Linked DNA regions of Homo sapiens: region 1 is linked to region 2. Evidence: promoter capture Hi-C in human tissues and cell types (Jung and others, 2019). All regions are on one chromosome and are shown on one strand. Each heading gives the region's core, a stretch centred on a gene start or on the middle of the fragment in contact. The rest is flanking DNA. Distances are from core to core; before and after follow the strand shown. Region 1 overlaps EFTUD2 (elongation factor Tu GTP binding domain containing 2). Region 2 holds the start of GJC1 (gap junction protein gamma 1).

Region 1 (4,275 bases), core at 668-3,167, 53 kb before region 2:
ATATTAGCTCTTTATTTTGTTTTTGTTGTTGTTATTTTGAGACAAGGTCTCGTTTTGTTGCTCAGGCTGTAGTGCAGTGGCACAATCATGGCTCATTGCAGCCTTGACCTCCCAGGCTCAATAGATGTGTCTGCCTCAGCCTCCTGAGCAGCTGGAACTACAGGAACACACCACCACGCCTGGCTAATTTTTGTGTTTTTTGTACTGTTTCACTATGTTGCCCAAGCTGGTCTCAAACTCCTGGGCTCAAATGATTCTCCTGCCTTAGTTTCCCAAAGTGCTGAGATTACAGGCGTGAGCTACCATGCCCGGCCCTCAACTCTTTATTTTGAAAAGGAGAGCAAAAGGAGGTAGATATATGTGTAGGATCATTTAGGTGCTCTCTCTCTCTCTTTTTTTTTTTTTCGATGCGGGGTCTCACTCTGTTGCCCAGGCTGGAGTGCAGTGGCATGATCTCAGCTCTCTACAACCTCCACCTTCCAGGTTCAAGTGATTCTCCCGCCTCAGCCTCCTGAGTAGCTGGGATTACAGGCGCATGTCACCACGTTCAGCTAATTTTTATATTGTTAGTAGAGATGGGGTTTCACCATGTTGGAAGTCCTGGCTGGGTGTGGTGGCTCACGCTTGTAATGCCAGCACTTTGGGAGGCCAGGGCAGGTGGATCACCTGAGGTCAGGAGTTCGAGACCTGCCTGACCAACATGGTGAAACCCCGTCTCTGCTGAAAATGCAAAAATTAGCTGGTCGTGGTGGCCTCGGCCTCCCAAAGTGTTGGGATTACAGGCGTGAGCCTCTGCTCCCGGCCTAATTTTTGTATTTTTAGTAGAGACAGGGTTTTACCATGTTGGCCAGGCTGGTCTTGAACTCCTGACCTCAGGTAATCCACCCACCTCGGCCTCCCAAAGTGCTGGGATCACAGGCATGAGCCACCATGCCCAGCCTCTTCTTCCTTTTTTAGTCTTGCTGTTTTACTATTGAAATCCCCGTGATAGTCCATTCACAGATTGTGTTACCTCTTGGATAAGTTTCTTGCATTCCCAAAGCCAGAGCTATGTAAGTATAGACATTCACATCTGCCTGAGCACTCTCCAGTTGGTCTGAAAGTTGTTCCTGGCCAAAAAATACCTGAAACACCTTTACACCACTCCTCATTTGGAAACGTTTGCCAATCTCTCTTTTCTCTTTTCCTTTGTCCTTTCAGTTTCTTGGCGGATCTGATGGATAACTCAGAGCTCATCAGAAATGTGACCCTTTGTGGACATCTCCACCATGGCAAGGTAAGACGGAACTTTCAGCTACTTGGAACAGGATTTCTCTTTTGTACCTGCTCATGTTTTAGCCCTTAGAGTCACAGCGGTTGAGGTTTGAGGTCACAAGGCTCAACCTCCTGACTAGGGGTGCTGCATGCCTGTTACGAAGTCATACTGTGAAATTCTGGCTTTTCCCAAGCAGCAGGTGGAGCCTGTTCCTAAGCCACTTGCATGCCTGAGCCTTATGTCTACATCTGGACAGAAGATGGGAAATTGAGCCTTACTCTGATTTTTATAAGTTTTCATTTCCTGAGGGATGCCTGTCTAAGAAAGATTTCATCTTTTATTTGAAAATAATCCTGTGGCTTCAGTGTTAATTATTTGCTGTCCCATAACCCTCCTTGCTCTCCTTTTTCTCTCCTTATCCCTAAATTATGTGGTGTATTGGGAGCTGGGGGAAGGGCACAGTAAATTTTCCTCTGTGGTCGGCAGATGTTAACTGTTTCTTCCCTTTTAGACATGTTTTGTGGATTGTTTAATTGAACAGACTCACCCGGAAATCAGAAAGCGCTATGACCAAGATGTAAGTAGAACTTCTGTTGAGGGTTTAGGATGAACCATTCAGAACAGATAGAGATGTCTCTCTCCTCCTTCCTTCACCCTTCCTGTTCTCTATAAATAATGACGCCTCCAAAGTGCAGCTTTATAATTGTGATCTCTATTAATAGGCTGTAAGAAAATAATTTCAACTTTCTCGGGAGCATAGAGAATATTGAGCTGCAGTATTTTTGGATGATCCATTTTGCACTTGGGATCCCTCCTCTGTTATGATATATCCTGACTTTTATAGTCTATTCTTTCCTGTTATAGTATTAATAGCCTGCTCTATAAATATGGTACAATTGTACCTGGTTTTCATGGTAAATTTAAATGCCTGTGAATGAGGCCAACTGTGTCTGCAAGTCTCAGTGCAATAAATGTTCAAACCCTGCCAGATTGATTGTTTTAACACTTTAGCATTAAGGCTGACATGTGTCTCCCTTTACCACACTAAGAATTCTGTGCATTTGATATAAATTATCTCTCAGCTATACCTGGTCTTTAGTGACCTCCCCCAACTCAAAAAGAGTGGTGGCTCATGCCTATAATCCCAGTACTTTGGGAGGCCAGGACAGGAGCATCACTTGAGGTCAGGAGTTTGAGACCAGCCTGGCCAACATGGCGAAACTCTATCTCTACTAAAAATGCAAAATGTAGCTGGGTGGGCACGGTGGTGCACACCTGTAGTCCCAGCTACTCAAGGGGCTGAGGCAGGAGAATCGCTTGAACCTGGGTGGTAGAGGTTGCAGTGAGCCAAGATTATGCCACCACACTCTAGTCTGGGCGACTGAGTGAGACTCCATCTCAAAAAAAGACAAAATCACAACCAAAAAGAAAAACCCAGCCATGTGTGGTGGCTCACGCCTGTAATCCCAGCACTTTGGGAGGCTGAGCCGGGGGGATCACATGAGGTCAGGAGTTCGAGACCAGCCTGACCAACATGATGAAACCCTGTGTCTACCGAAAATACAAAATTAGCTGAGCATGGTGGCGCACGTCTGCAATCCCTGCTACTTGGGAGGCTGAGGCAGGAGAATCTCTTAAACCCTGGAGGCAAAGGAGGTTGCAGTAAGCTGAGATCGCGCCATTGCACTCCAGCCTGGGCTACAAGAGCAAAACTCTGTCTCCAAAAAAGTAAAAATAAAAAAATCCCTCCACACACCCAGGAGCATTTCCAGCTGGGAGGGCACTGGTCTCATTGTCTGTAATTGCTGTGGGGACACCCTGCTCTCTCTCTCTCTTTAATCTCAAAGAAACCCTTGAGCTGGGAGGTAGTGAGGGAAAGTGATTGATGGTTCGTTTGTGGGAGAGCAGTCTCAACTCAGGTGGTAACAACAGTTAATTTTTTTTCAGCTGTGCTATACTGACATCCTCTTCACAGAGCAAGAGGTAAGCATGCCTTGGGGAATCTGATTGTCACCTACACCAGACCCACCAGTAATAGTTTTGTAGGGAATGTAGAGGAGCCTTTATGATAGCATTTTAGTTCATATCCTACTCCTCTCTCTCCACTTCTCACATCCCATCTCCTTCTTCCCCCAGTTACTCCAGGGTTATAACTTGAAAAAGAACTGGGTAGGCAAGCTGTAGGTTAGGAGGGGAACCCTCCTGTTCTTGACTAGATTAAATTTGGCCTAATATAGGAGAAGTACTAAGAGGCGATGTCTGCATTTGTGCTATAAGTTACGCAGAAGCTCAACATGATTTTTTTAAAATGACATCATCCTTTAAAAATCCGCAGGATGAGTCCATCCATATGATGACCTCTTTCTAGGAGTAGCTTCTCTTTGAAAATGGGTTCCTATATCTTTGTGTTTCTCTTTTTGTCTTTCCTTCCGGATCTTTCTCTCTAATCTCTGACCCCTTCTGTTTCCCTCCTCTTATTTCTGTCTCTTTTTCCTAATGGAAGTTTTAAGTATAATAAGTATGGTTAACTAAAGGCACTTGGAATTAGTAAAGATAGATAGGCAATCAATGTTAGCTGTTATTATTTTATAATGTATTTATGTATTTGTTTGGAGTTTTAAAAAAAATGTTTATTTCTGTCATAGCTTTTATATTTCTTTTTTAAAAAAAAACTAAAATACCCCAGATTGTTTCTTTTTACTTTCAAGGTGCTCAGCTATTGTTTTTGTTTCTAATGTATAAAGAGGATGAGATTCTAGGACCCTGGATTCTCTGATAAGGCTTAATACTGTTTTGTTTGCAGTAATTCATTTTCATCTTTTCACATTTGAAACAAGTCCCCCAAAAATGGTGTCTAACACCAAGATATTTTATCTTCAAGGTCATGCTGGCTAGAGGCCTAGATAAAAATCACCCACTATAAGGAGAGGCATCAGTGTAATTTACTAGCAACTGGGGAGCCCCAAAAACAAAATGAACCCCTCTTGCATAGGAAGAGGTCTTGACCACTCTTTGTTCCT
Region 2 (4,295 bases), core at 1,408-3,907:
TTTCTATGACCCGCCTTGGGGAAGAGGAATTTTTATTTCTATGACTCGCTTCAGGGGAGAAAGGGGCGGGAGACAGGAGGGCAGGAGAAGGTCAGAGAGAGACTTTGCTTCTGAGGCCTTCCAATCTCCTTTAGTTCAAAGCACTCAGCACGCCAAAGCTCCATACTTTGGGATATTGTTTTCTTTCTTTCTTTTTTAAAGAGATGGGGTCTCGCTCTGTCTTCCAGGCTGGAGTGTAGTGGCATAATCATAGCCCACTGCAGTTTCCTGAGTAGCTGGGACTACAGCCACCACGCCCTGGGAAATCATTTTCTGAGCCTCAACAGTAGATATTGCCAGTTTTGCAAAGTCCGCTGGGCACGGTGGCTCATGTCTGTAATCCCAGCTCTTTGGGAGGCCAAGGCGGGCAGATCACTTGAGGTCAGGATTTGAGACCAGCCTGGCCAACATGGTGAAACCCCCTTTCTACTAAAAATACAAAAATTAGCCAGGCATGATGGCGGGCACCTGTATTCCCAGCTACTCCGGAGGCTGAGGTAGTAGAATCTTTTGAACCTGGGAGGCGGACATCGCAGTGAGCCGAGATCACCCCACTGCACTCCAGCGTGGGCGACAGAGTGAGACTCTGTTGCAAAAACAACAACAAAGTGATTTAGGCCAGGCACGGTGGCTCATGCCTGTAATCCCAGCACTTTGGGAGGCCGAGGCAGGCGGATCACAAGGTCAGGAGATCGAGACCATCCTGGCCAACATGGTGAAACCCTGTCTCTACTAAAAATACAAAAATTAGTTGGGCGTGGTTGCGTGCGCCTGTAGTCCCAGCTACTCGGGAGGCTGAGGCAGGAGAATTGCTTGAACCGGGGAGGTGGAGCTTGCAGTGAGCCTAGATGGCGCCCACTGCACTCCAGCCTGGCGACAGAGTGAGACTCTCCCTCAAAACAAAACAAAACAAAAAAGTTATTTGTACTAGTTTACAGTTGCAGGCTGTGAGAATTTTAATATTTTATTCAACAGGTACAATGATGTTGTTTCCTGTGTTATTTTAGTTACATGCTATTTATTATTTCCAGGTATTTTCAGAGTTTTCACCCTGGTCATTTTATTTTTTTCACTTATTTTTTTGAGACAGGGTCTCACTCTGTCGCTCAGGCTGGAGTGCAGTGGCGCTATCTCAGCTTACTGCAGCCTTGACCTCCCGGGCTCAAGCGATCCTCCCACCTCATGCTTGGAGTAGCTAGGATCACAGGTGCGCGTCACCACACCCGGCTAATTTTTGTATTTTTTGTAGAGATGGGGGTTTTGCCATATTGTCCAGGCTGGTCTGGAACCCCAGGGCTCAAGCAATCCGCCTGCCTAGGCCTCCCAAAGTGCTGGAATTACAGGCGTGAGCCACCGCGCCCATCCCACACTTGTCATTTTAAATACATCTGTAGAGAGGCAATGTGATAAGGCGTGGGGACAGACTACAGCAATCACAGGGAGAAGTACTTAAATGCTCCGAGGCCAAGCAGGTCATGAAATGATTTAAGCAGCTGAGTGGGGACATTGCCTACCCGGACAAGGTGACTCAAGAGGAGCTGCCATGTGAAAAGAGAAGCTCAAAGTAAGCAGCTTTTGACTTTTTAGGGAGGCCAGAAATCTGGATTTTAATATTTTGGTAACTAATTCATATTTTTGGAAAACATACTGGCCACACAAAACTGGTCAGTGCATTAGATGCCTAGCCTTCAAGATTTCCACTCTGGGGCTACCCCTTAGGGCTTGGCTTTGGGTGGGGGAGTTTGACTTGCAGCAAGTAACCTCACTTGTTAGCGCTTAATTTCCCCTCTGGTCAAAAGGGCAAAATAATAAAAGCCTGTCCATCGGCATTCTGATGCTCAGATGAGATCATTCCAGAGGTCGCCCATCTCTTTACTGAGCCTTCCTTTATTACCCAAAGTCTTACTCTACTTAAAGCATTTGGAGAATTTTCGGTTTCCTACTGGGCATTTTAAAACTGGGGATTCCTATGCATGAAAATTTTTCCCAAGTCCTCTGAATGGGATCCTGCTGGGATGCAAAGAGTTAAGAGGAAATAGCCTATTAGGGTCTTGCTAATCCGAGAAGTTCAGGACCTGAAAAGTATCTAGAGCACTGCTAAGAGCCCCGACTCTAGCTAGATCCACGCAGGGCCCGCCAGATCCTCGAGGAATTGTAGAGCAGAACCTGGGAGGAGACATTAGCATCCCGTGCTACAATGGACCAAGGCCTCGGCGGAGCGCGCAGAAGACAACTCTGGGCCCGCTAAACCAACCCAGGATACCCAGGTAAGGCGAGAACCCACGGCGCCGTTAGCGGCCCGCTCAAACTGAGGCGCGGCTGGCGGGGGACTCTCGCCCGAAAATCAGCTTGGAAGAATGAACTGTCCGGAGCGAAGTCTGCGCCCACCCGGGGTCCAGACTCCACGCGGGTGACTCCCACGCGCGCCGCGCCTCCGCCGCGTCCCGGACTATCCGAGAGAGCGGCGAGGACTCGACCGCGGAAAGTTGGCGCTCGCGTCGCTTCCCGCGCGTTCTGGGGCGCCCCCCTCCCACTCGAGCGCCACGTGCCGCGCGCCCCCCGCTCCCGGGCCGCGGCGGGACGCCCCCGCCCCCACCGCAGCGCGCAGTGCGCAGGCGCCTTCCCGCGGGTCGCGGCGGCGGGAGCGGGAGGCGGCGGCGGCGGCGGCAGCGGCGGGAGCGGCTTCTGCCTCGGCTGGAGACTGAGGCGAAGGCGGCAGCGGCGGAGGAGGTGGAGGAGAGGCGAGGGTGAAGGCGATGGCGACGCGGGGCACATGAGGCCGCGACCGGCGGGACGGGCCGAGGCCCGGCGGAGGAGGCGGCTCCGGGGGAACCCGCCGCCGGGTGAGGGGCGGCCGCAGGGCCGGCTGAGGAGAAGCGGGCCAGGGGCGGGGTCCCAGGGGGAGGCGGGAGAACTCTTGGGGAGCCCGGGGAGGGGCCGAGGAGAACCTCCGGAGGTCCGGGGAGGAGCGCGGCCAGAGCGGGAGAAGGAGGGGGGCGCCGCCGAGGGGTTCCCGCCGAGTCCGGAGGGGCGTCGCCGGCCCGCGTCCTGCCACTGTCCCCGGCGCACCCTCCCTCTTTGTCCCCAGGCGCGCGGCTCCCAAATCGGGAGGGAAACGGCTCGGGGGTGTCCTGGGCCGCGGAGGTGTCGGGCGACGGTCGGGGAGCCCGGACAGAAGCGGCGCGCACTCGGCGGCGCCCCGGCGGTGCCGACAACTACCCGGGCGGTTAGGGGCGCAGGGCGGAGCCGGGCCGCCCCTCGCCGCCCGGGCTCTTCGCGGGCTGCTCTTTGTCTCCCCGACCTCGATCCCTGCGTCTCCGGCGGCGTGCGGGCTCGTCTGAGGCTTCCCGCATCTCCCCGCTGGAACTCCTGCCTCCCGGGGGTTAGAGGAGGGTTCGTTCGAGGGCTGGAAGCGGGAAAGCGGGGCGGAAGGACTGGGCTCATCGCCTCCTGATTAACTCGTTGTCTTTACTTAAAATGACTTTTCCCCCACTTTGTCAAACTTGAGAACTGTTTTGTGTGTGTGTGTGTTTCCTTAAGTCTCTAGCTTCAAAATTAAGAGTAGGCGCTACCGCTGTGATTGTGGGCAGTTGTGTGGTTGGCGGCTGCGTTTGGAGCTCTGAGTTGAAAAGATGTACGTGAATGTATGGTTTAGATTTTGTTCTTTTTTTTGCGATTGTCTGATTGGGAGTACTTTTCCTTTGCGAAATGGGCGAATTTGGTTTTCTTTTTGTTCATTGAGAACTGGCAGTGATACCGATTTCATTATGCTCATGCTTAATTTTGTTAGCATCAAGACGATGTGAAATCGAGTAAGTTAAGTTTGAATAAGTTCAGGCTGAGGGTCATCTTGTATGCCTGATAAGTCTAAATTTGTTATATGTTTGTGTCGTGTATACGTTCAAGTGAATATATGTGAAAGCGCTATAAAAAATCAAACTACATAAATGAAAGGGATTTTAATTTCCTGATAAGCAGGAAACAGCATATCTCCAGTACTTTAATATCTGTAGAAAAATGCGTTAATAATGTCATTTAGGAATAAAATATTTCTCTCCCTAGAGAGGGTTTAGGTATTATTCAGAGTAAAAGAGCAAAAAAATTTCAACCTCAGAGGGTATGGAAAAAAACAGAAAAATACCCTTACTTCCAGAGCTCCTGATTAAAATATTGTGAGTTGTGGGTTAAGTTTACTGATTTAAAAAAAACTTAGCATAGAGTTGTATCACTGCAGTTGCTTTGAATGTCTTAAGTAC

What was found. The method cuts DNA at HindIII sites, captures the fragments that hold promoters and counts their contacts. A contact is called where the count stands out against the background at its distance.
Region 1: a contact is called between a fragment that was not itself captured here and the fragment with the promoter of GJC1 in region 2, in 2 of the 25 tissues and cell types used here (mesendoderm cells and spleen).

Annotation. Positions count from the first base shown.
Region 1 is chr17:44,880,650-44,884,924 of GRCh38, reverse strand. EFTUD2 (elongation factor Tu GTP binding domain containing 2) reads left to right here. Exons shown (of 28, transcript NM_004247.4): 5 at 1,201-1,276; 6 at 1,767-1,832; 7 at 3,203-3,238. It also overlaps the pseudogene RN7SL405P. Among named protein-coding and RNA genes, the nearest start is that of EFTUD2, 17 kb to the left of the region's middle. The HindIII fragment of the contact is 7,445 bases long and covers 1-4,275 here.
Region 2 is chr17:44,828,649-44,832,943 of GRCh38, reverse strand. It overlaps GJC1 (gap junction protein gamma 1), which reads left to right and starts at 2,657. Exons shown (of 3, transcript NM_005497.4): 1 at 2,657-2,882. RefSeq lists enhancers at 1,052-2,025, 2,026-2,999 and a silencer at 3,055-3,344. The HindIII fragment of the contact is 21,747 bases long and covers 1-4,295 here.